4 separate regions of the Homo sapiens genome follow, and regions 2, 3 and 4 are each linked to region 1. Evidence: promoter capture Hi-C in 16 types of primary human blood cells and fetal thymus (Javierre and others, 2016). All regions are on one chromosome and are shown on one strand. Each heading gives the region's core, a stretch centred on a gene start or on the middle of the fragment in contact. The rest is flanking DNA. Distances are from core to core; before and after follow the strand shown. Region 1 holds the start of NDP-AS1 (NDP antisense RNA 1). Region 2 has its middle 27 kb from the start of EFHC2. Region 3 overlaps EFHC2 (EF-hand domain containing 2). Region 4 overlaps EFHC2 (EF-hand domain containing 2).

Region 1 (5,986 bases), core at 1,760-4,259:
CAAGGAAGAGGGGCCCAGCCCATTGGAGGTGGCCCCACGTCCTTCAGTGCCTGGAGTTCTTGTCCTTCAGAGTGGGCTGGGGGTGGAGCTGGACATCCTGAAAACTTTTAGTGAGATTGCAATCAGATGAGCTCATTTACAAATGGCCCTACGCTGTTGACTTGGTCATTTTATGGACAGTGCTAATGGCCCAGTCAGTTAGGCCTACGTTTGGTTCACCTGTGTATACATCACTTGGATATTATGTCCCATATCATTGTTGGCCCTTCTGAGTTAAGTTCGTTGGCACAGATTTACTTTGTCCACCCAGACTGAAACTGCACCTCTGAAGACTCCATCACGGAAGGTGACTCTGTGAATAACTGCTTAGTCAACCTAATAGATGATCTAGATGAGAGATTAGCAAATTTAACACTACTCCAAGGTGAGGTATCAAGCAGCTCTTCCCACATACAGGGAGATGGGGGGAGAACAGACTAAGGAAGATCTTGGACTCTCTCTCTCATTAGAGAAATGGGGGTGGGAATTAGGGACTAGCCTGTGTACTACTGACCTATGGCATAGTCTCTCAAAACCCATTTCAGAGCCAGGCACAGTGGTACATGCCTGTAGTCCTGGCTACACAGGAGGCTGAGGCAGGAGGATCCCTTGAGCTCAGGAGTTTAAGGCTGTAGTGTGCTATGATCATGCCTGTGAATAACCACTGCACTGCAGCCTGGACAACATAGCAAGACTCTGTCTCTAAAAACAAAACAAAACAAACAAACAATCATTTCTGATAGTTTACTTTGCCTGTCAAAATGAAGAGCAGGTAGGATAGAATCAAAAGCTTTAAAAAAATCAAAACAGCTTACAGCTGCTATTTTCTCTCTGCCTCTGCGATCATTCAGAGAAAATAAATTCACTGGTCTAGTCCAACTTATTCTTCCCTAAGCCCTGCTGTTTTTTTTTTCTAGTATTTCATATTGCCTTGGTGGTTGCTAAGTGATTGTTGGATTTAGCCCCAGTATATTCTCAGATAACTATGCCAATAATCTATAATTACCAGAATTCATCTTTTCTCCCTTTTGGAAAGATGGACTGGCTATTTTTTTCTTGTAAACCTTGGGTGTTTAATTCTGCCCTACAGGATGATGTCAGAGATAATAGCTGGTGAGTCTTTAATAATAACTGCGAATTCCTACAATATTGTAAGGTAAACGTCAAAAGGTTTCATGCATATATATGTATCTTTTAATCTTTCATTTGAACAGTTTCACTTTTTATGATCTTGCTGTTGGTTCTGGAATTATAGGACAAATTTTTCTTTTCTTTTCTTTTCTTTTTGAGACAGGGCCTTGCTCTGTCACTCATGCTGGAGTACAGTGGCTTGATCATAGCTTCCTGCAGCCTCTAATTCCTGGGTTCAAGTGATCCTCCTGCCTCAGCTGCCAAAGTAGCTGGGACTACAGGTGCACATCACCACGCCTGGTTAACTTTTTATTTTTTTTTTTAGAGACACGGTCATGCTATGTTGCCCAGGCTGGTCTCAAACTCCTGGGGTCAAGTGATCCTCCTGCCTCAGACTCCAAAGTGTTGGGATTATAGGCATGAGACAATACACCTGGCCCAGGGGATTTTTTTCTCCATCACTTAACATGAAATTCACCAAGCAAAACCTCTTACATAACCATGGGACCAATAATCTCAGATTCTCCATTCCCCTCCCCACCTTGATATTAGGATTATGCAGCTTAATGAGTCAAGCTGTCCCACCCTACCCACCTATTACTCCCACTCCCAGGATACCAGGAGTTTTGTATGGGATACATAAATGATCCTTTTTTCCATTCCGTTAAGCTGTATGCAAATTGTGTGTGTGCTTATGTACATTTTTCTGGGGATAACTTTGGTAGTTTTCATCAGATTCTTAAAGGTGTCTGTTTGCTAAAGCCAGATTAAGAGCTACTATAAAGAACACATAGCCTCCGTTATTCCAGCCCAATCTTTGGAAATAGAGATTATCAGAATGGGTACATCCTAATATTTGCCGCAAATGACTCTGAAGATGCGGATGCAATTACATAAATCCCAGGCTCCTTCAACATATAAACCCAGAAGTGTGATTTCAGGGCCCCAGACATGCCCTGTCTCTACTTCATTCTCTTGTCCCAAATTGCAGCACCCAGAATATTTCTTCCTAAGCATTACTCAGGCTATCCTATTTTCTTATTCAGAAACTATATTCCTGTTCTTTAGCTATTTCCTGCACAAATCAATTTCTTTTTTTTTTTTTTTTTTTTGGTAGTCATTTTAATTTACTTCTTGGTTTCAATTTGGATTGACTTTCTGCATTTTGCTACTGGTAGAATTGCAATGCATTGGGCCAGTGGTAGACCACTACCTGTCAGGAGAAATTTCTTTTGTTCTTTGGTTTTTACTCGCACATCACAGTGATGGGCGTCATTCAGTGGTTCTAAACCCTCAGTACACTTAGAAATCACCTAAGAAGCTTTGAAAACCATGAAAGCCTGGTCCCTATCTCCAAGGATTTTAATTCAATCGATCTGAATGAGGCCTGGGTGTTGACTTAAAAAAAATGCAACATGCATTGAGCCACTGGTCTAATCTAGCAGGAATTGGCAACGAGTGTGAGGGTCTTTCAAAAGATGCTGTTTTACCTGGCTAAGGTTGTGGCATGCCCACAGAGTAACCACCTCCTTTTCTTTCCCCAGATGGTGCTCCTGGCCAGGTGCGAGGGGCACTGCAGCCAGGCGTCACGCTCCGAGCCTTTGGTGTCGTTCAGCACTGTCCTCAAGCAACCCTTCCGTTCCTCCTGTCACTGCTGCCGGCCCCAGACTTCCAAGCTGAAGGCACTGCGGCTGCGATGCTCAGGGGGCATGCGACTCACTGCCACCTACCGGTACATCCTCTCCTGTCACTGCGAGGAATGCAATTCCTGAGGCCCGCTGCTGTGTGTGGCTTCTGGATGGGACAACTGTAGAGGCAGTTCGACCAGCCAGGGAAAGACTGGCAAGAAAAGAGTTAAGGCAAAAAAGGATGCAACAATTCTCCCGGGACTCTGCATATTCTAGTAATAAAGACTCTACATGCTTGTTGACAGAGAGAGATACTCTGGGAACTTCTTTGCAGTTCCCATCTCCTTTCTCTGGTACAATTTCTTTTGGTTCATTTTCAGATTCAGGCATTTTCCCCCTTGGCTCTCAATGCTGTTTGGGTTTCCAACAATTCAGCATTAGTGGGAAAAAGTGGGCCCTCATACACAAGCGTGTCAGGCTGTCAGTGTTTGGTGCACGCTGGGGAAGAATTTACTTTGGAAAGTAGAAAAGCCCAGCTTTTCCTGGGACATCTTCTGTTATTGTTGATGTTTTTTTTTACCTTGTCATTTTGGTCTAAGGTTGCCATTGCTGCTAAAGGTTACCGATTTCAAAGTCCAGATACCAAGCATGTGGATATGTTTAGCTACGTTTACTCACAGCCAGCGAACTGACATTAAAATAACTAACAAACAGATTCTTTTATGTGATGCTGGAACTCTTGACAGCTATAATTATTATTCAGAAATGACTTTTTGAAAGTAAAAGCAGCATAAAGAATTTGTCACAGGAAGGCTGTCTCAGATAAATTATGGTAAAATTTTGTAAGGGAGCAGACTTTTAAAGACTTGCACAAATACGGATCCTGCACTGACTCTGGAAAAGGCATATATGTACTAGTGGCATGGAGAATGCACCATACTCATGCATGCAAATTAGACAACCAAGTATGAATCTATTTGTGGGTGTGCTATAGCTTTAGCCGTGTCACGGGCATCATTCTCTAATATCCACTTGTCCATGTGAAACATGTTGCCAAAATGGTGGCCTGGCTTGTCTTCTGAACGTTTGGTTCAAATGTGTTTTGGTCCTGGAGGCTCAAATTTTGAGTTATTCCCACGTTTTGAAATAAAAAGAGTATATTCAAAATTTTGACTGTTTAAGTATTTTTTTCCTACTTGATATCCTACTATCATGTGGACTAGAACATACATGTAGCTAGTGCTTGAGCATCTCCTATGATATAGTAAAAGAGTCAAAAAAAAAAAAAAGGAGACAGAAATGGGGTTCCAGAATGCATTGTGGGAACATTTTTTTGAAATCAATGTAACAAGGTGTTGAGGGCTTATTAAATTTGACTCTGAGTTTTAGATTTTAGCCCATTGAATAAACACAAAATCTAATGCATTTTGGCTTCCTTGGAAGCTATGGAATGAAACAGAGGAGTCCCCTCCTTTTTAATTTCTTCACTTTTCTCAGAAGAAAATAAATATCCATAAGTGAAGTTGGAAGAACCAGCAGAAGGACAAATAGTTAACAACATTTCTGTGCCATTGACTGTGCAGTGCTCAGGATCGAATGATATTACTGGGCATTACAAGAATACTCATGATGTTAGCACAGTGCTATGTCCCTCTTAGGTATCTCAATACAAATCCAGACTTGGCAATTCAGTTTCCAGGGCAACCTTGTCCTGGTTAACTAGAGATGATATTAACTCCCCCACTGTTAGTACAGCCAACCTGTGAATTACTTTTCCAGTAGAGATAATGGTTTTGAACACTCTTTGGCACAGCTTTCACACATTCTTAAGAAAGCCAGCAGGGTTATACTTGTATTCATGGCTTTGAAACAGAATGAAACTAATGCTATTAAATCTTGACCTTGATCTTAATCTCTGTGGTGACACAGCCAGCCAGTCTCCTAAATTGGAGGTTCTCCTCATTCTGAAGGCAAATGCGAAATGGCAGTTTGGACCATTACATGAAGAATTTTGTCATAAATGGAATTAAATTTAATACTGAAAGTTAAATGGTTATAATTTTTAACTGATAATGAAAGTATTAACTGTTGGTCACATTTATGACTGTTCTTTCATGTTGCTAATCAAAAAGTGAAAAATAATACTTCCAGCCTTAAAAAGTATTTTCTGGGCCTTAAAAACTCAATTTTCTTTGAGAATCTATAATCTATACCCTAAACTCTAGTCTTTATTTCCTTCTACCAATTTGGGACTACAGGGGGCAGTTATATGACTCATATCTTCCAAATTCTCTGGAAGCCATAGAAAATAGTCCCTTCAAATCCCATTACATGGTCTATTGACAAAGTTTCCCCCATGGAAATGAGCAGAATATACTTGGAGCATTAAAGAATCACAGGACAGTGGCCTTGGAAGAACTATTAGAAAGCATACATCCTCTTCTCTCCTTAAATACATGAGCAAATGGAGGCCTGTAGAAATCCAGGAACTGGCTGAAAGTCACAGACACTCTTGGATTTGGAACTCGAACCCACGCTTCCTGCTCCTCACAACCCTGACTGCTTTAATTTCCTTCCTGCCACCAGTGAAAGGAGCCTGGCTCCTTTCAGGATCTTAGAGTGTGGCGAGACAGGGTAAAGTTTAGGGGAATAGCAAGGCTGAGAAAGGGGAAAAATAGTTATATTTTCCCTAAAGACCTAAAAATAGCCTTGGGAACTGAGAGATTTCAGACATTACTGGATATTAAGTTACTATGGAATTTGTTTTCTATCTTTTAAAAATTAAACATATTTAGCCTTATTTTGGTGTCTACCCCTAAGGATTGAGAGACAACCAAATGAAAACATTGATCAGTTAAAAACATTACTCCTGGAATGTCTAAGAAGTGTTCATTTGCTTCCCCATTTACTATGCATGAGAAAATTAAAGTATGTTATAATTTTAGTAGCTTACCTCTTAGAAATCTGTCTGATAATCTATAATGGTGGAGGGCAAGCCTCCTGTAAACTGATCTTGCCCTCATCATTTTTAAGCATTTAATAATAATGAGTTAGTACTGCAGTGGAAGATAGGTTTATGAACTTAATTGATTTTCTTGACATCCCAGTTTTACAGACCAATACCTTAAATCTTAATACACATAAGCTCCTGAACTATCCCCAGAAGCTCAAAATGAAGGACAAATCAA
Region 2 (5,986 bases), core at 1,548-4,047, 420 kb before region 1:
TTCCTGAAAGGAATCTCGATCTCAAAATCAGTTTATTTAAAACAGAAGCCGCCATTTACTCTGAAGTTGTGAGACCAGGCAATTGAAAAATTCTTGGCAACACTGATCTCACACTTGTTTCCCTTATGACTTTCCTGTCTCTGTTATTAATGCTACTGTTCATGCTTTCATCAGACACCAAATCTGAGTTATCTTCGGGTCTTTCTCTTTCATTTTCCAAATCCAATCTGTTGTTTAGTTTTGAACATTCATGTATATAATTTGTCTTCCATATTCACTTCAAATCTCCCTTGTTATTTCTCATCTGTTCTCATATGTTTGTAATAATCTCCCAACCTGTCCACCTGCCTCATTTTACCTTCCTTTACCATTCTATAGAGTAGATCTCTACTGGCTGATAAATAATAGCCTCACTCCTTAGCCTCACTTATAAGCCACTTCTCAGTTTGGTGTCAAATCATCACATTCTCAGCCTTATCCTATCCCCAACTCCAACCCAACTGTTCTACCTGTCAATTCTTTTTATGTTTTGTTTTGTTTTTGTTTTTGAGACAGAGTCTCACTCTGTTGCCCAGGCTGGAGGGCAGTGGTGCAACCTCAGCTCACTGCAACCTCCGCCTCCTGGGCTCAAGCGATTCTCCCACCTCAGTAGCTGGGACTATAGGTGCACACTACCAAGTAGCTGGGACTACAGGCACACACCACCAAGTAGCTGAGACTGCAGGAGTGCACCACCAAGCCCAGTTAATTTTTTGGATTTTTAGTAGAGATGGGGTTTCACCATGTTGGCCAGGCTGGTCTCGAACTCCCGACCTCAGGAGATCCACCCTCCTTGGACTCCCAAAGTGCTGGGATTACTGGCATGAGCCACCATGCCCGGCCTCCTGTCAATTCTTGAATGAGTCTTGGGCTTTTCCTTATGTTTTTCCTTTTATCTGGAATGTTCTTTTCACCATGTCCACATATTGGAAGTCCACTCACTCTTTAAGGCCATTCTCTAATGCCAACCCCATTCATTAAGTCATCCATCCATCCATTCATCTATCCACCCTTCTTTCCTTCCTTCCTTTCCTTTCCTTCTTTCTTGTTTTCTTTTCTTTTCTCTTTCTTTCTTTCTTTTCTTTTCTTTCTTTCATCAAATATTTAATGTCAGACACTGCTCTAGGTTATCAGTGCAAACATGTCCAAGGCTTAGCCTTGCCCTCCAGATATCCATAGTCCCACAGGGAAGAGAGATGGGTAATATAGAGCATGCTATAATCCACACATGCACATGGTGGCAAGGGAAGAGAGCAAGCAGATCAGCTAACTCTTCTGAAGGGGATAAAGGAGGAAGGCATAATGATGGAGGCTTAACAGATAAGTTGTTTGAGTTCCATGACTGTATCAATTCAAAGTAACCTCTTAACCCTCCACTTACTTTAGGTAAGACATAGACATCACAACCATCACGCATTGCATAATACCAGGCACACTGTCATCTTTTGTGAAAAATATTTAAGGGAGGAATGAACACATTTCTACCAGATTGTAAGTTCCTGAAAAGCGGGGGTGGTGGTTCTCTTAGATTGCATGCTGTAAAGTGCCCACTAAGTAATCCTTCAATTAGGTACATCTGTTAAATGCCATTGATTGGAATTAACTTTTCAGTTGGGCACATCTGAATGCAGTGGAAAGCTTATTTCAGGATTTAAGAAATATTTGCATCACTTTAAAGGAGCTTATTAAATTCTAAAAAAACATCCAATTTAAAAGCCTTTTTATTGAACCAAGAGTGAAAGTAATGAAAACCAATTTCGTGAAGTTAAAAAAACAGTGAGACTCTTAATAATAATTGTTTTTGAACTCCCTATTGCTTGACTCAATACATTTTGTCTCTAGGTAAAACTTTTCCATCCTCCTGGGAACTCCCTAGCCAATCCCAAAGTTACACAATAATTGAAGTTGTTAACTACTCTGCCAAGTGCAGATCATTTGCCTGGGAGTTTGAATCACTTTTAAAACTTGCTAATATTGCTTGTGGTGAAGGAACACTTCATGGATGGTTCAGAAAATTCCTGCAGATTCACTTCAGGTTTTTTTCTCAAGTTAAATTAAACTATTATTAAATTTCATATGTTTTGTTAGACATAGCATGTCTAGTCCAACTGTATTCTTATGAAATTACTTCGGGGTGTCTGGATGTGTTATATTCTCTATATCCATCATTGGATCTGTTGACATTGGCTAATTCCACCTGATGAGACTCTGGGGGATTTGTACTTTGATGTATTTCTTGAGTTTTTAAAAATAAAGAGCATTTCTCATTTTTATAAAATCAATTATGTCATTACTTGATTTAAAAAATTTTACTCTCTGTGTTTCAGATTCAATTCAGACAACAAAAGCCTATTGAGTTTCTACTATATGCTAAGATGCAACGTTGAACAGGATGGGGTCTATTCCCTCAAGGACTTTTTAGCTCAGCTGGAGAGAAAAACATATTCATGGACAAAACATGTATGCTGGCAGTATGCACAGGGGACAATGGGAACAGAGGAGGAGGTCTCTTAGAAGAGAGAGCCCTGGCATGACAAGGAGGACAAATAGTAATTGACCAGGAGGCTGGGGGCAGGAAAGGCAGAGGTTCCAGCATGAGCGAAGGGTTAGAGATAAGAAACGACGTGGTTTATATGGCTCACTGCAAGCCTCGCTAGGATTACTGGTGAATAACGTGCTTTTTGAGACAAGGTCTTGCTCTGCCACCCAAGCGATCTTCTCACCACAGCCTCCTGAGTAGCTGGGACTACAGGCGCCCAGTTCATTTCTATACATTTTGTGGATAGATACAGTCAGTATAGGTACAGTGCTGGGTATAGTCAGTATGGAAAGATACTAGAGAGGTGTCCAAAGGCCAGCTCAAGAAGGGCTTCTTCGCTACTCCAAGCCAGCCATGCCATGCTAGGGAGCTTAGCAGGAAATGAGGCACCATGGAAGGGTTGTGAAAAAGAAAGTGACGTGGTCAGATTTGCAATTTAGGTAAATCATTCAGGTGGTACCAGGTATGGATGCGAGGCAGGCAAGACTAGAAGCTGAGACCGCTTGGGAGGTCTTTTGCTACGATTCTTAGATTGAATTAAAGCAATGAAAGCAGGAGTAGAGAAATGAGTGGTGGGTTTGAAGCATATTTTAGTGGGTGGAATTACCAGGGCTTGGTGTTTGATTGCTGTGGAGGGTGAGAGGAGAGCCATAGGTTCATCCTCAGGTTTCTGGTTGTGTGTCTTTTGCTGAGATGAAAGACAGGAGATAAATTTCAGGGGAAAGTGTAATGAGCACTGTTTTGGACTTTTTGGATTACAGGGGCCAATGGACCACCCAAGCGGGCCCATGCAGCAGGAATTTGGATGGGGTATTCTGTAGGGGAGGAAAAAATATTTTTTTTCTTCTACCCTCCTAGGTTCTCTGTTTGGGGCTCAATAAATTAGGTTGACAAAAGACAGATTAACAAGAGAAAAGCATACATATTAACTAAATATAAGTTTTATATGACATGAGAGTCTTCAGAAGGAAATGAAGAGCAAAGAAATCATTAAACCTGAGCATCTTTATACTGGTGTGATAAAGAGTGAAGAGTCATGAAAAAGTGTGATAAGATAAAGCGGTATAAGCTAAGGATAGTTAACCGGGGGAAATTTAGCAAGGCCTGTTCATTTGGATTCTTCTTGGTGTCCCATCTTCGGAGATAAGGATGCCTCTTTCTTCTAGGTCTAGGGAGGGCACCTCTCACATGAGGGTCTTCAGACCTGCTTCAGGGGAAGGTCAGAGAGTCCTTTCTGTACCTGCTGTTTCTCAAATTCTTTCAGCTTAAAATATTCAATATGCCAAGGTGCCATACTTTGGGGTAGCATGTTTTGAGCCCTATTGATTCTAAAGCTTAGGGGACATTTCTGGGCTAGGGCATAGATTAGGAAGCACTTATGGTTAAGTGCATGAGGTCAAGTCGTATCAATCAGAGAGCATGTTAAGAAGTTATAGACTGAGGATGAGAATCAGGGAGATTGAGAGAGGAGCGTGAAGGAGACACAGAAATAACATTCAGGGGTCATGAAAAGAGGCCCCAGAGAGTGCAATGCTATTGAAGCTGGGGCACTAGGGACTTTCTAGGAGGAACTAGTGGACCCCAGTGTCAACTGCTTCAGGACAATCTAGAAGGTAAAGACAGTAAATGTCTGGGCCAGGCACAGTGGCTCATGCCTGTAATCCCAGCATTTTGGGAGGCCTAGGCAGGTGGACCGCTTGAGGTCAGGAGTTCAAGAACAGCCTGGCCTACAAGGTGAAACACTGTCTCTACTAAAAATACAAAATTTAGCCAGGAGTGGTGGCATGCACCTGTAATCCCAGCTACTTGGGAGGCTGAGGCAGGAGGATCGCTTGAACCTGGGAGGTGGAGGTTGCAGTGAGCCAATATCGTGACACTGTACTCCAGCCTGGGTGACAGAGTGAGACACTGTCTTAAAAAAAAAAGACAGTAAAATGTCCATTGGGTTTGACAATCAGGGGTTCATTTGTAACCTTTGTCAGAGAGGTTGCAGCAGGTGAAAATAAATATTCTAACCTTGACCTGCACGAGGGCAGGCCTATGGGTAATGGGAGATTTATTTCCCAACTTAAGCCAGTCCAAGTCAATTAAGCATCTTTATACAGTCATGTGTTGCTTAACAACAGGGATAGGTTGTGAGAAATGCATCATTAGGGTGATAGGGTGCGGACATCATAGAGTGTCCTAACACAAACCTAGATGGTATCGCCTACTACACACCTAGGCTATATTGTATAGCTTATTGCTCCTAGGCTACAAACCTGTGCAGCATGTGACTCTACTGAATACTGTAGACAACTGTCACACAATGGTAAGTATTTGTATTTCTAAACATAGAAAATACATAGTAAAAATATGGTATAAAAGATAAAAAAAGATACACTTGTAAAGGACACTTACCGTGAACGGAGCTTGCAGGGCCAGAAGTTGCTCCTGGTGAGTGAGCGAGTGGTGAGTGAATGTGAAGGCCTAGGACATTACTGTACACAACTGTACACTTTATATACACTGTCCACTTAGACCACACTAAGTTTATAAAAATATTTTTTCTTGGCTGGGCACAGTGGCTCACGCCTGTAATCCCGGCATTCTGAGAGGCCAAGGTGAAAGGATTTCTTGAGCCCAGGAGTTTGAGACCAGCCTGGGTAACATGGCGAAAGCCCTGTCTCCACAAAATGTATAGAAATGAGATGGGCGCCTGTAGTCCCAGCTACTCAGGAGGCTGAGGTAGGAAGATCGCTTGGGTGACAGAGCAAGACCTTGTCTCAAAAAAAAAAAAAAAATTTCTTTTTATTTCTTCAATAATCAATTAGCCTTAGCTTACTATAACTCTTTTACTTTATAAACTTTTTTTTTCATTTTCCTTGTTTTTGAGATGGATTTTCACCCTTGTCGCCCAGGCTGGAGTACAATGGCACGATCTCGGCTCACTGCAACCTCTGCCTCCCAGGTTCAAGTGATTCTCCTGCCTCAGCCTCCTGAGTAGCTGGGATTACAGGCATGCACCATCATGCCCGGCTAATTTTGTATTTTTACTAGAGACGGGGTTTTACCATGTTGGCCAGGCTGGTCTTGAACTCCTGACCTTAGGTGATCCACCTGCCTTGGCCTCCCAAAGTGCTGGGATTACAGGCATGAGCCACCGCGCCTGGCCAACTTTTTCATTTTTTAAACTTTTTGACTCTTTTATAATAAAACTTAGCTTAGAACACAAACACATTGTACAGCTATACAAAAATATTTTCTTTCTTTACATCCTTGTTCTATGAGGTTTTCTCTATTTAAAATTTTTATAAATGATTTTTTTCCTTTTTATACTTTTTTGTTAAAAATGGAGACATAGGCACACACACTAATGTGTGCTAATGCCTAGGCCTACACAGGGTCAGGCTCATCCATGTCACTGTC
Region 3 (5,986 bases), core at 1,265-3,764, 350 kb before region 1:
AGTAATAATGGATAAACAAAATATGGTATATCTACATAATGAAAACTATACAACAATAAAGAAACCTAATGATATATATGTTACAACATGGGTGAACCTCAAAAACATTACACTAAGTAAAAGAAGCCAGACACAGAAGACTTCCTATTATATGATTCCATATATATGAAATCCTAGAAAAGGCAAATACATAGGAAAAAGCAGATCAGCAGTTGACTGGGGCTGATGGTGGGAGAGGGGACTTTTGTGGGGGAAGTGATAGAAATGTTTTAAACTGGATTGTGGTGATGATTACACAGCTCTGTAAATTTACAAAAAGCCATTGAACTGTATGCTTAAAAGTAGTAAATTTTATGGTATATAAATTACAGCTTAAAATATTAGTTTGTTTGGGTTGCCATTGTAACTGCCCAACTGGTTCACCATGCCTGCTGCCTAGACAGAGCCCATTTATCAAGATAGGGGAATTGTAATAGAGAAAGAGTTATTCACACAAAGCTGGCTGTTCAGGAGACCAGAGTTTTAATATTACTCAAATCAGTCTCCCACAAAACTCAGGAATTGGGTTTTTTAAGTATAATTTGGTCGGGGGGGGAGTGGGTTGGAAAGTGGGGAGTGCTGATTGGTCAGGTTGGAAATCATAGGGAGTTGAAGCTGTCCTCTTGCACTGAATTGTTCCTGGGTGGGGGCCACAAGGCCAGATGAGCCAGTTTGTCAATCTGGGTGGTGCCAGCTGATCCATTGAGTACAGGGTCTGCAAAATATCTCAAGCACTGATGTTAGGTTTTCCTTTTTTTTTTTTTTTTTTTGAGATAGAGTCTCACTCTATCACCCATGCTGGAGTGCAGTGGCGTGATCTTGGCTCACTGCAACCTCCATCTCCTGGGTTCAAGCGATTCTCCTGCCTCAGCCTCCCAAGTAGCTGGGACTACAGGCGTGTGCCACCACGCCCGGCTAATTTTGTGTATTTTTAGTGTAGATGGGGTTTCACTGTGCTGGCCAGGATGGTCTCGATCTCCTGACCTCATGATCTGCCCGCCTTGACCTCCCAAAGTGCTGGTGTTACAGGTGTGAGCCACTGTACCTGGTGATGTTAGGTTTTATAATAGTGATCTTATTCATCCCCAGGAGCAATTTGGGGAGGTTTAGAATCTTGCAGCCTCCAGCTATATGACTCCTAAACCATAATCACTAATCTTGTGGCTAATTCGTTACTTCTGCAAAGGCAGTCTAGTCCCTAGGCAGGAAGGGGTTGTTTTGGGAAAGGGCTAGTATGTTTTTGTTTCAAAGTTTAACTATACACTAAGTTCCTCCTGAAGTTAGTTTGACCTATGCCTCAGAATGAACAAGGACAGCTTGGAGGTTAGAAGCAAGATGGAGTTGGTTAGGTCAGATCTCTTTCACTGTAATAATTTTCTCAATTATGATTTTTGTAAAGACGATTTCACCATAACAAAATACTACAGACTGGGTGGCTTAAACAGAAATTTTTTTTCTCACAGTTCTGGAGGCTGGAAGTCCAAGGTCAAGGTGCTGGCAGGGTTGGTTTCTCCTGAGGCCTCTCTTCTTGTCTTACAGATGACTACCCTCTTGCTGCCTCATCCTCTGTGCACACTAATTATAGTTATTTTGAACATAAAATCCTTGTCATTTATAAGATTTTAGTTCACAAATTAGGAAGAAACTGATAGTCACTATTTGACTTGTTGACTTAAATTTTAGGCTGATTTATATTTTGTTCTGAACTTTTAATCTATAAAAGTCATGGTTATTTATGTATTCTTCCCCCCCGAGTTCAAACCAGCTGCAAGTTTATTTGAAATATTAAAAAAAAAATTATTTACCTTCCTTTATTTTGTATTTGCAGGACTCTGCCCTATGGTAAACTCACTTTTTGTAACGCTGATGGTGGGTGATAGCACAAATGCCATAGACCATATAATCTAGCTGTATTCTTAAAAAAATTTTTTTTAAAGTAATTTTGGACTCACAAAAAGTCACAAAAATAGTACAGAGAGTTCCTGAATACCCTTTTCACAGCTTTCCCCGATGATAACATCTTATATAACAGTTTGATATACCTTATCAAAACCAGGATTTTACCTTCTGCAACATGGTAAAACAAGAACAAAAATGCAGGAAATCAGCATTGGCATTGTGAACCCCAAAGTATCTGAGACAGGTCTCAATCAATTTAGAAAGTTTATTTTGCCAAGGTTAAGGATGTGCCTGTGACAGCCTGAGGAGGTCCTGACGACATGTGCCCAAGGTGGTCGGGGTACAGCTTGCTTTCATACATTTTTAGTGAGACATAATACATCAATCAATATATGTAAGATGTACATTGGTTTGATCTGGAAAGGCGGGCCAACACAAAGCCGGGGAGAGGCTTCCAAGTCACAGGCAGATTCAAAGATTTTCTGATTGGCAATTGGTTGAAGGAGTTATTATCAATATAAAGGAATGTCTGGGTTATGATAAGGGCTTGTGGAGACCAACGTTTTATCATGCAGATGCAGCCTCCAGGAAGCAGGCTTCAGACAGAATAGATTGTAAATGTTTCTTATCAGACTTAAGGTCTGTGTTGACGATAATGCTGGTCAACTTTTCCTGAATTCCAAAAGGGAGGAGGGTATAATAAGGAATGTCTGGTTCCCCCTTCCCATCATGGCCTGAAACTAGTTTTTCAGGCTAACTTGGGAATGTCCTTGGCCTAGAGGAGGGATCTGTTCAGATGGCTGGGGGGCTTAGAATTTTATTTTTGGTTTACAGTATAATACTATTAACTAAACCGCAAACTTTATTTGGATTTCACCAGTTTTTACATGCACTCACTTTTTCCCCCTTAGTTTAACAGTCCTGTGGAATCTTATCCCATATATAGATTCATGTAACCACCACCATGTTCAGGATACAGAATAACTGTGTTCTTTAGGATTTTGCTGTTTGAGTCCTCATTTATTGAGGTAAACTTCATTTTAATTCTTAAAATCAACTTTATTGAGGTATAATTTATATGTAATAAAATGAGCCTTTTTTTTTTTTTTTTTTTTTTTTTGAGACAGAGTCTCACTCTGTTGCCCAGGCTGGAGTGCAATGGCGCGGTCTCTGCTCACTGCAACCTCTACCTCCTGGGTTCATGCAATTCTCCTGCCTCAGCCTCCCAAGTAGCTGGGATTACAAACGCCCGCCAGCACGCCTGGCTAATTTTTGTATTTTTAGTAGAGACGGGGTTTCACCATGTTGGCCAGGCTGGTCTCGAGCTGCTGACCTCGTGATCTGCCTGCCTCAGCCTCCCAAAGCGCTGGCATTACAGGCATGAGCCACCACACCTGGCCAAAATGAGCCTATTTTAAGTATACAATTCCATTAGTTGTGACAAATGTATGCATCTGTGTAACCACCACCCCAGACACCGTCTAGACGTCTCTGTTGCCTCAGGAGGTTCCCTTATTCCCCCAATTCGTTTAGCCCTTTCCCATTGTTCTGACTTCTATCACCATAGCTTAGTCTTTCATTTTTTTCTCAGATTTCAGATAAACGGAATCTTATGGTGCATCTGCCCTGGAATCTAGCTTACTGTTTGAGATTTAAGATTTGAGGCGCAGCTTTGACAATGTGTATATAAACAAAGTGTAGCAAATTCATGTAATAATATACTATAACAGATTTCTGGGCATTTTACAGTCCTTTTTAGTCCTCTGGTTTGATATCCCTTTACTTTAAAACATTCTGCTTCAGTTTTTTCAAATTACTCTTCTAACCTCCTTCAGAGGTTTTAAAATACTTTAAGATGTTAATAACACCACATTATTCAAAGATATGAAGAAATGCTTATCTCCATTCTTTTTTCAATGTTGTCCCATTTCCTTTTCTTTTATTCCATCTCTCTCAACCTTCTTGTCCCTTCCCTTCTGGTGTTTTTTTTTTTTAATTTTATTTTTATTTTTATTTTTTTACCTTTTTTCTGTTTTCTTTTCTCTTTTATTGGACTTCTGTCTCTTCATCCTCATTCTCTTTACTTTCATCCATTTTTATTCATCTTCTATTGTGAGTGCCCTATTTAACTTTCTTCCTTTCCTTACTTTGTCTTCGCCTGTTTCTGGCCTTGCAGTTGCTGACTTCTCTTCTTAGGAGAGTATCATCATTGTTGTCATCATCATCATCATCGGTTTTTTTTTTTTTTTTTTGAGATGGAGTCTCGCTCTGTCGCCCAGGCTGGAGTGCAGTGGTGCAATCTCAGCTCACTGCAACCTCCACCTCTCGGTTTCAAATGATTCTTCTGCCTTAGCCTCCTGGGTAGCTGGGATTACAGGTGCACGCCACCACACCCAGCTAATTTTTATATATTTTTTTTAGTATAGATGGGGTTTCACCATGTTGGTCAGGCTGGTCTGGAACTCCTGACTTCGTGATCTGCCTGCCTCAGCCTCCCAAAGTGCTAGGATTACAGGTGTGAGCCACTGTGCCCAGCCCATCATTGATATTATTATTACTAGGGCCTTTCCCCTTCCCCTTTCCCCTAGGGCTGGACCCAGGGTATATATGTCTCTCCAAATGGAGTGTTGTCTGAAATTAACTCTGTGTGCAGTGTCTAGGGTGTTCTTTGGAAACATGGCCTGCCTGCAATACCTCCTTAATGAGAGGCTCTTTGGTATAGTAGAAAGAACAAGGCTTTTCAGTTAGACTGAGGTTTAGAACCTGGATTTACCATCTATTACCTATTTCATCCTGGCCATGTTTTTAACCTCTCTTAGCCTGAATTCCCTCATCTGTCAAGTGGGAATAACAAAACCCACCTTAGAGTTGCCGTGAGTATCAAATGGGTAATGCATGTCAAATGCCCAGGTCATAGTAGTCACGAAGAATTATTTCCTTACATGGGGTGGGGAGAGCAGTTTTCCTAGGGGAAGTGAAGCATAAGCTGGGACTATCCCAATGCTCATTTGTGCTACAGGATTCTTGCATTTTTCTTTGGGAAAAATTCTGGGATTTTCCAGAAGAATAAATTTGGAGATGCTACCACTGAGCCCAGTGAGTTCTAAAAAGCAGCTATTAAGCTATCATTGTATTGCTCTTTCCAATTGTTCTGGGCACCATTTATGTTGAAATTAGGGTAGTTCATAAAATCATATATTGTTTAAACAAAAGATTTTGTCATGTCTCTTCTATTTTAGCAAATTTACTTAATGGTCTTTTAGGAGGAAAGGTGATAAATAACTACCTTTTAAATTATTTTATTTTTTCATTATTCTGAACTAATAGCAGTCAGTAATAGGCTGCTACAACTGTATTTACATGCCTATTATTCATAACTGTACTCATAGATTTTATACCATGATCCTCTAGGTTCTAGAAATTTCATGCAGGTCCTTTTATGTTTAGTTGAAATTGTACTTCCTTTGCAGTCTACCATGTTCCCCCCTTTTTTTGGCTTAAAATATGAAATATGTTTTGCATGCATTTTATTATTTCTCTTTGATTCTACTTGTTGATATTTTTCATTCAGAATTTCAAAGCATTTATTTTTGCATTTATATTTACATATCAAAAATATCATATTTTAATAGTTTTACATATTAAAACTATTTTCAGTTCTGGTCTACTTGGCTTTTACAGTCAGCTTTATGAATTGAAGCTTTGGTTCTTATGGGTAGGTAATGGAGATAATATTATTGTGTGTTCCCAGCTTTCTCCTTTTCCACATACCCTGCCTGCTAAACAAAAATTTGTCTTTGCTCACTCCACTTTTCTCCACCTCCATCCTCTAAGGATTCTTCTGACTTTTTCAGTTGTTCTTATGCTTTGTGGGATATAGGAAAGGAAGAAGTGGATAGGAGGGAGAGAGAGTATGAGTGGGAGAGCACTGATGGTGATGAAATGTGAAACTCGTGAGAATCGAAAAAGAGAGAAAAGGCTTTTTTGGGGGAGAAGTGTGGATGTGCAGCATAAATTGGATCACCTTTAGATTTTCCTTGGAGGTCTA
Region 4 (5,986 bases), core at 1,077-3,576, 270 kb before region 1:
CTGTCAAGTTGTTACTTGTTTGCTTCCCTGCCTCCACATCAGCTCCTGCCAAGTGCAATAGATGTTTGCTGAATAATTTAATGAACGATCCTATTTCTCAAGGAACGTTCAGTCTAAAGCTTGCAGCAATCAAGTAAATAATTGATTTCCTTGCACCAGGGAAGGGCCATCTGGCTCTTACTTAGGGAAGTAAGGAGAAGCTAGGCCTGATCCTCACTAGCCAAGTAACTTGGGCAACTCACTTCACCTACCTGTATCTCACTCATTTGTTCATATATTGGTCTCTGAGGTCCCTTCTAGGCTCTGACAACTGGAAACTCTGAAAATGTAAGTTTATAATATTCTTGTAAAATGTTCTCTTTTCAAATTTGTACATTGAGATAGTAGAGAAGAGCAGAGGCAAGCAAAGGCAGGACTGCAGCATAGGCCTATGGGCTTGGCCTCTGTGGCCCTGACTCTCTTCTGCTTAGATACCTGGCACTCTCAGCATACACCTGGGGCTTCGGGGCCCAGACCTGCTGCTCTGGGCAGTGGTCCAAGCCCCCAGCATTGCCCTTTTTCTCAGAGATGTGCATCTCCTCTCAGAAAAACTTTGAGGGTAGGAGCTGATAAACTACCTCTGTATAAGGTGCCATGGTCAATAATGGATTAATGTGTGGGCCTCTCGGAGATATTTGCCTCAGAATAGACCTGATGGAATGCAGGGACAGGCAGCCATCAGGAAACAGAAGTAGGGAATGGTTTTTGTTTTTTTTTTTTTTAATTTTTTTATTTGGGTAGGGAACATTTCTCTTTTGCCTTGTGGGAATTCACCACTTCTGCTTCTGTTTCATTGATCCTCTTTAGAATCTTTTTGGCATGGTCTATCAGATTCGCCTGTGAGAGCTGCTGATCGTTATCCAAGAGAGTGCAGATAACCTTTCTTAGAGCCTTAGGATAGATACCTGGTGGCAGTGGTGGGCAGATTTCAGCAGGGAGCAGGGCAGGGACTAAGCTTGGCAGGGCTAGTATTTCATGCAGTTGGGAACATAGGCAGGGTGGGGCTTCCCAGTGAGGGCCCTGGACTCTGAACCACAGGCAGCAGCAGCAGCAGCAGCAGCACTGAGAGCCCAATGCCAAGGAAGATGTGGTCAGTCCATCTCTCTGGCCACCTCCCTGAGCCTTGATCTACCCATCAGAGATGACACCTGGCCCCATGTAGCCTGTGTGTATTTTGGTTAGCTGAGTGCTTGTCTCTTCTCTCCACCTGGGGAAGCTCTCAGAGGGCAGGGCCCATGCCTGGTTCACTCTTGTGTCTTTCCCAGATGCCTCCAGAACCCAGTGTATCAGACCTCAATGAACATAGTGAATTATTACAGATTTTTTCTTCAGGTCCCCGTTATCAGTTGCAGAGTCAGTAGCTCTCCTGTGAACATCCATGTAATAAATTCCTTCTAAGATTTAGAACCTCAAGGAGATTTTCTCCCTTGTAAAACTAAAATTCTTCCTAAAAGAGGTAATATAATAGAAATAGTTCTTATCACTGGTTTTGGAGTTGGCAAACCCAGATCTAGCTCTTGGCTCTCTTGTTTACCAGCTTAGTGGCCTTGGGGAAGCTGCTGAATAATTTTTTCATCTGTAAAATGGGGATAGTAATACATAGGACACAGCTGTTGTGATGAATACATTTGATACTGATATTAAAATTCTTATTGTAGCTGACTAGTGCATGGTGGATACTCAGAAAGTGAAAATGCTTTATCCCAATAGTTGTGAACTGGTGTCACCAACAACAGTAATAGGAAGGTACATCTTGTTTCCAGTATTTCAATAAGCTTTATATTTACTCATGGTGGGGGTCATTCAAAACATTCTTTAATAAATGAGGTTGAAAGAGAAACTCTAAAAACTTGTAGGCCTTGAAGATGGAAAATAATAAACATCATTGTTGGTGGACCAAGGCTGGGAAACATTAATATAATCTACCCTATTGCTGTCCTTTACTTCACGGAAGCAAATTGTAAATTTAGTGCTTAGAACATGGTAATGATCTCATCCTGATTTATCTAGGACAATTATCTCTCCTTTTATATGGTTTTGCCCTATTTTTATTTGGACTACTCTGTGTACATTGCTATTGGTGTTTTTTATTGTAAGCAATCTAGCATCTTTTAAGGAAGCCACTAGTCTATGAATCTATATGAACAAAAGCAAAAACAAAGACAAATAAAATCCCAAAGCACTCAAACATAGGTTCTTATCATGAACTAAATAGATTCTTGGACAGTATTCATAGCCTGTCTTCAAAATGGAAATTTCCATATATGTTTTTGAAAACAGCATTTTGAACTTTCCTAAAAGCATTAAATATAAATAATGTGATGTTGTAGAAAGAATGCTAGCCTGGGAATCAAAAAGATGGAGATCTTTGATTTGATTCTGTCACTGTCTGGTGGTGGTGTTTGTATTGGTGAGGGCTTAGTTTTAAAAAGGAATATCCTCTCTGGCTAGTTAAGCAAAAAAAAAAGGAATTTATTAAAAGGAGCCTGGGTGGTTCACAGTGTCTTTGGAAGGGCTGGAGAAACAAGCTCAAGGCTGAACTATAGGAACAGTGCCCAAAACAGGGCTGTAGAACTTGTCTGATGAGAAAATGACCTCTGTTACCACCACCCATGACTCATTGCTGCACTTGCATTGCTGCCAAGAACTTGATTTTACCACAGCCATAACTACCACTATTTCTGGCAATCGTCCTTTACCACCCCTGAAGGCTGGGCTCCTTTGACACCAAACGTGGCCCACCCTGAGCTGCTTTTCTTCTGTTAATCCCTTCTGAGGCACAGTCTTAAGTAAGCTTCCCTGATTGGTAGAGAGCCTGGGTCACCTGCATATTTCTAACTGCAAGGAAGTCTGGGAAATTGAGCTCTGACCTCTATGTTGGGGTGGTAGGAAACTTACGTGGGAATTTCCCCAAATATAGAAAGGCTATTTAAAAGATAGCCTTTGTAGAAAGTTTCAGTTAGACAGGATGAATAAGTTCTGGAGATCTGGAGATCTATTGTACATCATGGTGACTATAGTGAATAATGATGTATTATATACTTGGATTGCTAAGAGAGTAGCTCTTAAATGTTCTCACCACAAAAAAATAAGCATGTGAGGTGATAGATATGTGAGTTAGCTTGAGTTAATTACTTCTAAATGTATACCTGTATCAAAACATTACATTATGTGCTGTAAATATATACAATTTTATTTGTCAATTATACTTTAATAAAGCTGGGGGGAAATTGAATAAATAAAAGATACCCTTTTCATTTGCCATGAATATTGCAGGGATAGTAAATCCAAACCAACATGAGCCAAACAGGGAACACGAATATATGTTGACAACAGGGACAAAGCACCTACCTAGTTTTAGTACTTTGAAAATATTGTTTTGACTCGCCAAGCAGCTAAACAAGAGGCAAAGCCCTCCCCTACGCTTGGCTACTTTTGCAATCTCTGATGAACTTTTCTGAGTTTCCATTGCCTTAAATGAAGGTATTGGATTAAAAACAGGTTTATAGGTTGAAAGCTGGCAGTTATATTTTGTATGGCTTTTGTTTAATGTTTTTAAAATTGGGAGTTTAAACCTAAGAATATATATATCTGGTGCCTCTTGGAAAATAGAAATTGGACCCACATTTCTCTATGGCAACAATCTTTTGGGGGTGAATGGCACTTGCCCTCCTTAGATAGAGCCTGTTCTCTGCATTTCTTCTCAGTTTCTACAAGTCCTTATTGTCTCACGCTAAGGCACTTTCTCCTATTTATCTTACATACCTACCCCAGTAGGTACTAGACTAGGTAATTCTTGGATTAGATCATATAAGGCACCTCCCAGACATAAAATTCCATTATTTTGTTACTCTAGGTATTGTGGAAATAGGCATTTAGGAATCACTGTATAAATAGTTCAAAATAGAACTGAAGACTAATTTTTTAAAATTAGAATCCAAATATGATTGTATACTTGGAAAATCCAAAGGAATCAATTTTAAAATGGTTGGAACTATTAAGAGTATTCAGGAAAGTAGCTAAATATAAGAAAGCTATATATAGAACAATAGCTTTACTTTATATCAGCAATAACTAGTTAAGAAGTGTTCTGAAAAGGGGAATACTATTTGCTGTAGCAACAAAAATGAAATATCTGGGAATAAATTGGACAAGAAGCGTGAGACTAAAATGAATGCAATTTTTAAACTTGATATCTCTGAATGGGAAGACAATATTGTGAAAATTCTAATTTTCCAAATTTATAGATTTGAAGCAATTCCAATCAGAATTGCACAGCAGGTTTTTGCTCTTGCTGTTGTTAGATTTGGTTTTGTTTAACAGGGTTAAGGGAGATAAATTGACTGATTGATTATGAAGGTTCATCAAGAAGAATAAGGGGTTGAGAATATCCAAGAAAATGTTGAAAAGAATATTAAAATGTAGATACTAGAAAGGTATATGATTTACATACATTTGAAAACATTTTCTAGCAGAGAAACAAAAATATCAGTGAAATACAGTGTAGAGTCTATAGAAGAGCTATTTTTATGAACTTTCGTATAAGTATGGAGAACATTTCAAATCAGTAGAGAAAGAATGGATTATTAATAAAGATTTGGTGACAGTCAACTAGAAAATGCCTTTATACGCTTATTTTGTGGTGGAGCACAGTTTCCAAAAGCCATAAAGGAAAGATTATATTGACTACAGAAGAATTTTATCTCTCTCTATGGCAAAAGCTATCACAAACTTAAAAGACAAGGGACAGACTAAGAGAAAATATTTATAACCAGTGTAAGAGCCAGGGGATTAACATTAAGTACTTAAGAACTCCTATAAAATCAACACACAAAAATGGATCAAAGGCAGGAATAGTTCACAGAAGAAATACAAATAGTCTTTAAACCTATGAAAAGATGCCCAATAATGACACAAACTGAAACAATGATGAAATATTATTTCCACTTACTATATTGGCAACATTTAAAAAGAATAATATAACTGACTCCAGGTGAACATGTGTGGTAACAGGTACTCTCATTTTCCACTGATAGGAGTTTAAATTGGTTCAGCATTTTGGAGGGCAATCGGCAGAATGTGTCTAATGTTTAGACTCTTACCTGGTAGTTGCACTTGTAGAAATTTTTTATTTGAAAAAAATTTGGACAGGTGGATTGATAAATATATGTGTATGTGCATGCACAATATTTATTGCAGCAAATTTTGTAATAGTAAACATTTAGAAAAATAAAATGCCCAACAATAGGGAAATAGTTGGATATATTCTATTGCATTAATTTCAGACAATATTTTTTAGCCATTAGAAAGAGGTAGACCACATAGGCATAACAGAAAAAATGTTTGATGTATCAGTTAGGATTGTCTAAGTAATGCTGCAGTAACAACAACCCCTGAACCTCAGGGAATTAAACCAACCAAGGTTTATTGTTTGCTGACTTTATGTATCCATTGTGGTTGTCAGGGGAATTTTGTTCATAGTAGCCACTCAGAGACTGAGGCTGACAGAATAGCCACTACCTTGAATGTTCGCAGTCACATTGCCATAAAGGAAAGAGAATTTTGGAGGGTCAAGTACAACAAATTCTTACTTGGCAAGAAATACATATCATTTACACTCTCAATTTATTGGCTAGCACTAGTCACAGGACCCCACTCATGTGCTCAGAAGAAGGAGGGAAACCAGATCTTGGTGAACAGCTATGAGTGGCTACCACATATGTGTTGTGCTGTTTTGTAGATAAAGCAAAATCCAGAAGTGTGTTAATATCCTACTTATGCCAAAAATGTAAAAGTTGTGTGTGCATGTATATTTATATAAATATTTCAAGGAATGTATATCCTTTGAAGAAATGCTAGCAGGCTACACACGAAGCTATTAGTGGAGTATGCTTCATTCCTTGATTTTTACTTTTTTTTACAATGAGCAATTATTTTTTAAAACTTC

What was found. The method cuts DNA at HindIII sites, captures the fragments that hold promoters and counts their contacts. A CHiCAGO score of 5 or more calls a contact.
Region 2: a fragment that was not itself captured here is called in contact with the fragment with the promoter of NDP-AS1 in region 1 in 2 of 17 cell types (non-activated CD4 T cells and total B cells); the score reaches 7.9 in non-activated CD4 T cells.
Region 3: a fragment that was not itself captured here is called in contact with the fragment with the promoter of NDP-AS1 in region 1 in 4 of 17 cell types (total CD8 T cells, M2 macrophages, total CD4 T cells and 1 more); the score reaches 6.0 in total CD8 T cells.
Region 4: a contact is called between a fragment that was not itself captured here and the fragment with the promoter of NDP-AS1 in region 1, in 2 of 17 cell types (M2 macrophages and naive CD4 T cells). The highest score is 6.4, in M2 macrophages.

The regions. Positions count from the first base shown.
Region 1 is chrX:43,946,755-43,952,740 of GRCh38, reverse strand. It overlaps NDP-AS1 (NDP antisense RNA 1), which reads right to left and starts at 3,009. Exons shown (of 6, transcript NR_046631.1): 1 at 2,661-3,009. It overlaps NDP (norrin cystine knot growth factor NDP), which reads left to right. Exons shown (of 3, transcript NM_000266.4): 3 at 2,715-3,965. The coding sequence ends at 2,942. RefSeq lists enhancers at 2,298-2,814, 2,815-3,332. The HindIII fragment of the contact is 3,781 bases long and covers 2,494-5,986 here.
Region 2 is chrX:44,367,778-44,373,763 of GRCh38, reverse strand. No RefSeq gene overlaps it. Among named protein-coding and RNA genes, the nearest start is that of EFHC2, 27 kb to the right of the region's middle. The HindIII fragment of the contact is 2,235 bases long and covers 1,680-3,914 here.
Region 3 is chrX:44,295,933-44,301,918 of GRCh38, reverse strand. All of the region lies in intron 2 of EFHC2 (EF-hand domain containing 2), which reads left to right. Among named protein-coding and RNA genes, the nearest start is that of EFHC2, 45 kb to the left of the region's middle. The HindIII fragment of the contact is 6,252 bases long and covers 1-5,640 here.
Region 4 is chrX:44,220,026-44,226,011 of GRCh38, reverse strand. The region is part of intron 11 of EFHC2 (EF-hand domain containing 2); the gene reads left to right. Among named protein-coding and RNA genes, the nearest start is that of EFHC2, 120 kb to the left of the region's middle. The HindIII fragment of the contact is 1,019 bases long and covers 1,817-2,835 here.